2 separate regions of the Homo sapiens genome follow, and region 1 is linked to region 2. Evidence: promoter capture Hi-C in 16 types of primary human blood cells and fetal thymus (Javierre and others, 2016). All regions are on one chromosome and are shown on one strand. Each heading gives the region's core, a stretch centred on a gene start or on the middle of the fragment in contact. The rest is flanking DNA. Distances are from core to core; before and after follow the strand shown.

Evidence for each region. The method cuts DNA at HindIII sites, captures the fragments that hold promoters and counts their contacts. A CHiCAGO score of 5 or more calls a contact.
Region 1: a fragment that was not itself captured here is called in contact with the fragment with the promoter of COX7B in region 2 in 1 of 17 cell types (total B cells); the score reaches 5.2 in total B cells.

The regions. Positions count from the first base shown.
Region 1 is chrX:77,628,824-77,632,360 of GRCh38, forward strand. All of the region lies in intron 19 of ATRX (ATRX chromatin remodeler), which reads right to left. Among named protein-coding and RNA genes, the nearest start is that of ATRX, 160 kb to the right of the region's middle. The HindIII fragment of the contact is 2,458 bases long and covers 951-3,408 here.
Region 2 is chrX:77,898,218-77,901,797 of GRCh38, forward strand. COX7B (cytochrome c oxidase subunit 7B) reads left to right here and starts at 1,251. Exons shown (of 3, transcript NM_001866.3): 1 at 1,251-1,376. The coding sequence starts at 1,337. RefSeq lists an enhancer at 1,205-1,454. The HindIII fragment of the contact is 2,290 bases long and covers 966-3,255 here.

The DNA of each region.
Region 1 (3,537 bases), core at 930-3,429, 270 kb before region 2:
GCCTCAAACTCCCAGCCTCAAGCAATCCTCCTGCCTTGGCCTCCCAAAGTATTGTTATTACAGGTATGAGCCATTGCACCCAGCTGATTCTTGTCACTTTAAGCTACTAAGGCTTGGGATAATTGTTACGCAGGAAGAGATAACCAGAGCAGCTAAGTTGAAAGATGAACACTACTATCTTAACTCTGGTCAGCTCTAAACACTGTTTCCAATCCTAATACATACTCCCAATTTTCCAGGCTTCTGATCTAATAGCCTACCTTATAAGTTTACAACCTCAGCTCATCCTTAAGAATCTCATACCCAAAACTGTCTGGTTCTGACATTTTGTTTCCATCTTGAACTTCAATTTAGACTTTTCTTTAACATTACACCCAAACTTCAGTCTTCACATACTCTGCTGCCATTTATATGATTCTTCACTATCACTAATTTGTTCCAAATCAGAGAAGATAAATTGGGCATAAAATGGAAAACATGTACTGGAAAATTAAGTGTTATACTGAACAGATCCCTTCTAATAAATTTAGAAGTACTGAACAGATCCTGACACTTTAGACTTAGGTGGCAAAGAAAATTATATCTAGATACTATCACTAAACCTTAAAACTTAACAACAGTTTTAATATATTCCATGTTATACATGATGGATATTAGAATATTCTTGTTGCAGATGGTTACCCAGCTATGGCAGAGGAACTATCTCTAATACTTATATATACTCTGGAAAAGAAAATAAAAGTAGAGCTTCAGTTTCCTGAAGAACATCCAGTAAAACCTAATGGAGAAACCAGCCCCTCTTAAGTTTTAACAAGGGTAATCTAGGTATTTATTTTTTTAATTATCAAAACAAACAAAAAATATAACCCAATGTAGAACTTACTCAACCTGATAAAAGACACCTATTAGAAATCCACAGCTAATGTCATACTTAATGGTGGAGAACTGAAAGCTTTCCCTGAGATCAAAAACATGACAACCAACTGCTCTGACCACTTACGTTCGACATTGTATGGAAATTTCTAAGAAGGGCAATTAGGCAAGAAAAAGAAGTTGAAGATATTCATATTGGAAAGGAAAAAGTAAAACTATTTCTACTCATAGACTATGATTTTCTTAATAGAAAACTAAATCGCGTGCGTGCGCGCGCACACACACGCGTGAGCGCACACATACAACTATTAGAACTTATAAATGGACTCAACTAAGTTGCAGGATACAGAATCAGTATACAAAAATCTGTTGTATTTCTATACACTAACAAAGAATTATCTGAAAATAAAATTAAAACAATTTTATTTCCAAAAGGCTCAAAAAGAATAAAATATTTAGGAATAAATTTAAGAAAATAAGTCCAAGACTTTTACACTAAAGAAATTAAAGGACCTAAATCAAATTTCATTATTAAAAGAAATTAAAGACCTAAATAAACGGAGAGAAATTAGATGTTCATGGAGGGGAAGATTTAATATTGTTAAGATGGCAATATTCCTCAAATTAATCTACAGATTCAATGCAATATCTAACAGAATCCCAGCTAGTTTCTTTGAGGAAATATAAAAGCCAATCATCAAATTCAAATGAAATTTCAAGGAACCTCAAATAGCAAAACAACTTTGAGACAGAAAAATAAAGCTGTAGGACTTCTTCCTGATTGCAAAACTTACCACAAAGCTACAGTAATTAAAACAATGTCACACTGGCATAAGGACAGACATATAGATCAATACAATAATATTGAGAGCCTAGAAATAAACACATACATCTATGGTCAATTGATTTTCAACAATGGTGTCAAGACTCTTCAATGAAGAAAGAATAGTCTTTTCAACAAATGGTGTTAGAACAACTGGATATCAAAATACAAAAAATGAAGTTGGACTCCCACCTCATGCCATATACAAAAATAAACTGAAAATAGATCATAAACATAAATACAAGAGCTAGAACTATAAAATAAGAAAACACAGGTGAAAAAATTCATGACCTTCGATTAAGCAATGAATACTTGGATATGCACTAAATGCAAAAGCAACACAAGAAAAAAATAGGTAAATTAAATGTAATCAAAATTTTAAAGATTAGTACTGAAAAGATGATATAAAAAAGTAAAAAGACAACTCACAGAATGGAAGGATATATTTGCAAATTATATGGGTGTGTTTACATTTGTAAATGTCAATTTTCAGTAAAAGGAACCATGATGTCTTCAAGAAATGGCTGATTCTGGGGCCAGGACAATATAACATGAACCTGGAGCATCCTGTAATGCCAGAAAGTAATAAAGTGCTCAAAGCCAAAAGGATAGGGACATATCAAAGGGTAGAGGACCTCACCTTAAAAAAAGCTCCCAATGGTCAAAGTGAAACAATTTGAGCAAAAAAAAAAAAAAAATGCAGTAATGGTTTATAGTCCAATGCACGAACTAAAAATAGATGAGTATATAATTATATAAATCAAAGGCTAAATAAATGGGTAAGAAAAGATAATTTTTTCTTTAAAAAAATCCAAATTTTATGTGTAGATATTACCCACTATAGGAGATACAGCTTAATTTCCACCATCCTCCCATTCAGGTGGGCTAGATTGAGTGACTGGATTCCAATGAACAGATGAGGGACAGGTAAAAGTAGCAGCTCTACAGGAGAGAAACCTGACAAACTCTACCCTAGCCAAGTGATGAAAGTTAACATCATCAGTAACAGCAAGTGCTTATCATGTACCCCCGATATGAGATATGATGTGACAAAAAGGGTATGTCACCTCTGGTATATTCTTTCAAAACCTCAGTCTAATCTCAGTCTAATCACAAGAAAAACTATAAATTCAGATCAGAGAACACTCTACAGGATATCTACCTGGACGGTCCTCCTTAAGACTGATGAGATAATGAAAAAATAAAGATTGAGAAACCGTCATAGACCAGAAGACTGTTAGAGACATGACAGCTAAATACAATGTAGAACCCTGGATAGAAAAACTGGTGCAATACAAATGCAGTTTGAAGTTATTAATAATAATGTGTCAATTTCTTAGTTTTGACAAATCTACCATGGCAATGTAAGATGTTAACAATTGAGGAACCAGATGTAGGGTATATGGGAACTCTCTGCACTACCTTTTCAACTTTCATGTAAACAGAAAATTATTCCAAAATGAAAAGTTTTTTTTTGTTTTTTTGTTTTTTATTTTTGAGATGGAGTCTCGCTCTGTCACCCAGATGGGAGTGCAGTGGCACAATCTTGGCTCACTGGAACCTCCAGCTCCCAGGTTTGAGCGATTCTTCTGCCTCAGCCTCCTGAGTAGCTGGGACTACAGGAGTGCACCACCATGCCCGGCCAAAAATTTTTTTTAAATGTCACTAAATGATAAAATATGGCAATGACAAATGTTACCCTTCATGTTAGAAGCTTTAATTTTTTTTTTCTTCATTTTTTTCATGAACAAATAAGTACACTAAGCACCTGAAACTGTTGTATTAAACAGTTTCAAGGAAATCTTGTGGAAAAAATCTGCTACAATGATACTAGACACTAG
Region 2 (3,580 bases), core at 1-2,500:
GGTTCAAGCAAGTCTCATGCCTCAGCCTCCCGAGTAGCTGGGATTAGAAGCATGTGCCACCATGCCCAGCTAATTTTTTGTATATTAGTAGAGACGGGGTTTTGCCGTGTTGCCATTTCTTTTCTTTCTTTTTTTTCTTTTCTTTTCTTTTCTTTTTTTTTTTTGAGACGGAGTCTTGCTCTGTCACCAGGCTGGAGTGCAGTGGTGGTATCTTGGCTCACTGCAACCTCCGACTCCCTGGTTCAAGCGATTCTGCCGCCTCAGTCTACAGAGTAGCTGGGATTACAGGCACATGCCACCACGCCCAGCTAATTGTTGGTATTTTTAGTAGAGATGGGGTTTCACCATGTTGGCCAGGATGGTCTCGATCTCCTGACCTCGTGATCCGCCCACCTCGGCCTCCCAAAGTGCTGGGATTACAGGCGTGAGCCACCGCGCCAGGCCTAACAGCTTTCTTTTCTTTCTTTCTTTTTGAGACGTAGTCTCGCTCTGTCGCCCAGGCTGGAGTCCAGTGGCACGTTCTCGGCTCACTGCAACCTCCGCCTCCCGGGTTCAAGTGATTATTCTGCCTCAGCCTCCTGAGTAGCTGGGATGACAGGCGCGCGCCACCACGCCGGCTAATTTTTGTATTTTTAGTAGAGACGGGGTTTCACCATCTTGGCCAGGCTGGTCTCGAACTCCGACCTCGTGATCCGCCCACCTTGGCCTCTCAAAGTGCTGGGATTACAGGCGTGAGCCACCGCGCCCGGCCAATAGCTTTCCAAAGTTATTTTATCACGTATTTATCTACATATTACAGAAGTTTTTACTGTTCTTGCAACTTTTCTCTAAACTTGACGTTATTTGAAAACTAAAAGCTAAGCCAATTAGTATAGTAGTAATAGCAGACAAAAAAAATGAGAGAAGTAAAGGAAGTTTTGGGGGAACAGAAAGAAGAAAGAGCTAGTGTGGAGATACTAAACCGAAGCTTGTGGAACTTGAACGCCATTTTGAAGCTAGTTCCTTAGACGATTCGGTCGAAGATCTGTCTCTCGGCTGCCCTCTATAGAGCTCTAAACCTGGCTTCAAGGAGTTCTTTCATTCTTCATTAGATACCACCCACCATACGTCATTTTATAAAGCCGGAAACTACATTTCCCAAAAGGCCTTTATTTTTCCTCGCGGGAAAAGGGATTGCAATTACTATAGGTTTTACAGGTATCGCGAGATTTCGTCAAATCTCATTACGGATCCCGGCTGAAAGCCATTTTGTTTTTCAGCTCACTTCAAGGGTACCTGAAGCGAATTGGCACCAAAGCAGCAGCTGTATTGCCGCAGTTCTAGCTTCACCTTCACGATGTTTCCCTTGGTCAAAAGCGCACTAAATCGTCTCCAAGGTGAGCAAAAATTATGACAAATCATTTACAACAACCTTATATCAATGTGTCCTCGCGGCCTCTCGTGTGCTTTCCTTTTACGAACATCTCGGCCTTCTAATCTTGAATGCTGTCTGTCTCCCATCTCGTCCCAAGTCATTGGGATGATGTCCTTAGCATTGGCTTTATCACCCAGTATTTCTGTTTCGGTTTCCAGCTCTCTTTCTGTTATCGGAGTGATAGTCTAGCCCTGCTTTTTAATTCTTCAGTAACCTTTGATTTCAGGGAAGGACATTCTTGGTAGACACCTCGTTCCTTAAGTGATGTCCTACATTTTAGCTTTGGGGATATGTTTACTCCTAACCCTGTATAGAAAAATATCTTCTCCAATTCCTATTACTGTAATAGACGGAAACTGTAAATCTAGCTCTTCACCTGGTTTAATTGCAGGGAAACAACCCAAATGGTATCGATGCAGCTTTGAAGTTATTTGTGGATTAACAATGTTAGCTGGCCAGGCGCGGTGGCTCACACTTGTAATCCCAGCACTTTGGGAGGCCAAGGCGGGCGGATCCCCTGAGGTCAGGAGTTCGAGACCAGCCTGGCCAACATAGTGAAACGCCGTCCCTACTAAAAATACAAAAATTAGCCGGGCGTGGTGGTGGGCGCCTGTAATCCCAGCTACTTGGGAGGCTGAGGCAAGAGAATCGCTTGTACCCGGGAGGCGGAGGTTGCAGTGAGCCAAGACTGCTACTGCACTCCAGCCTGGGCAACAAGAGCGGGACTCCGTCTCGAAAACAAAAACAAAACAATGTTAGCTGTCCTGAAGGCAATCGTGGTCATTTTTTTCTTATCCAAAGGTTGGGCAGGTACAGGGAGTTTTGAGACCAGCATTATGTAGAGAAAATGCAATAGATTGAGGAGAACAAATTAATTTTCATACTTGATTTGCACCGAAGGTGACCTTGAGTAACGTGGGCAGTTGTTACACAATGAAGGTGACCCGTAATTACTATTTAGTTTGTTTAGCCATCTTTTGATTTTCACTTAATAGAATCATTGGAGGATATTATTAGATTGTGTCCTAAACTCTTAAGCAACTTTGAAAATAACCACAAAATATTAGCTGGACTATTTTCATATTCCCAAAGTAGCATTTATTATCTCTTTTACTTTGGGCATATGATTTAGCCTCTCTCAACCTCAGTTTCCTTCTTTGTAAAATAAGTAATTTGTAAATAATGCCTACTTCATGGGGTTGTTGAGGATTATATGAGATCACCAATGTGTGGTAATTAAACAGTTGTCACAGAGGAGAGGTCTGATGAAATCCACCAGAGTTACATGAGTGTGTTGAAGTTATGAGATGTTGCAGAATTTTTTGGTAGTCTTAATTTCTTTGCTCTTTGAGCAAATAGGGCCACCTTGTACCTCAGGAAAGGTTTTTTGTTTTTTTTTCAGCGTGGAATTCACATGCCCACTTTTTATCTTTTCTGGAGCAGAATATATTATGAAATATTTGTAAATTTGCCTATCCCGGTGTGACTAAAAGATGAAAAGGGAAAGCTATGTAAGACAGTTAGAAGATCTGATAATGGTCTAATAACTATCATGAAGTAACCCATTGTACCATGTAGAAATATTCATTGCTAGTGAATGGGCAACATTGCAGTTTCTTTTTTTTTTTTTTGAGACAAAGTTTCGCTCTTGTTGCCCAGGCTGGAGTGCAGTGGCTCAATCTTGGTTCACTGCAATCTCCGTCTCCTAGGTTCAAGTGATTCTCCTGCCTCAGGCTCCCTAGCTTTTCATTATATATGTAAGTACCTTTGGAGGCTCTTTAAAACGATAAGAACCTGCCCCTTAAATTGGACAGGAAGAAAAAAAAAAACAGCTAGAAACAAGCTTTTTCCAGTCTCGGCTGTTTCCCAAGCCCTCCTTTTTAGTTCTTCCAGGGGCCGTTTGAAAACTTTTGTTCTTCTCTTTCTACTGGTATAATACTAACAGCAAACTTTATCATTCTGCTCAAAAACTAAGTCCTTAGCTAATTCTGCTTCCTTGTACGATACTGATTTTTATCTACATGTGTAATCCTCTAGACTGGAAGTTACTTGAGGACAGGATCTCTGTCTTATACTTTTTTATATACCCCATTTCTCATTTTTTATTTTTAGGGACAGAGAATTGCTCTGTTACCCAGGCTGGAGTGTAGTGGTGTGATCATAGCT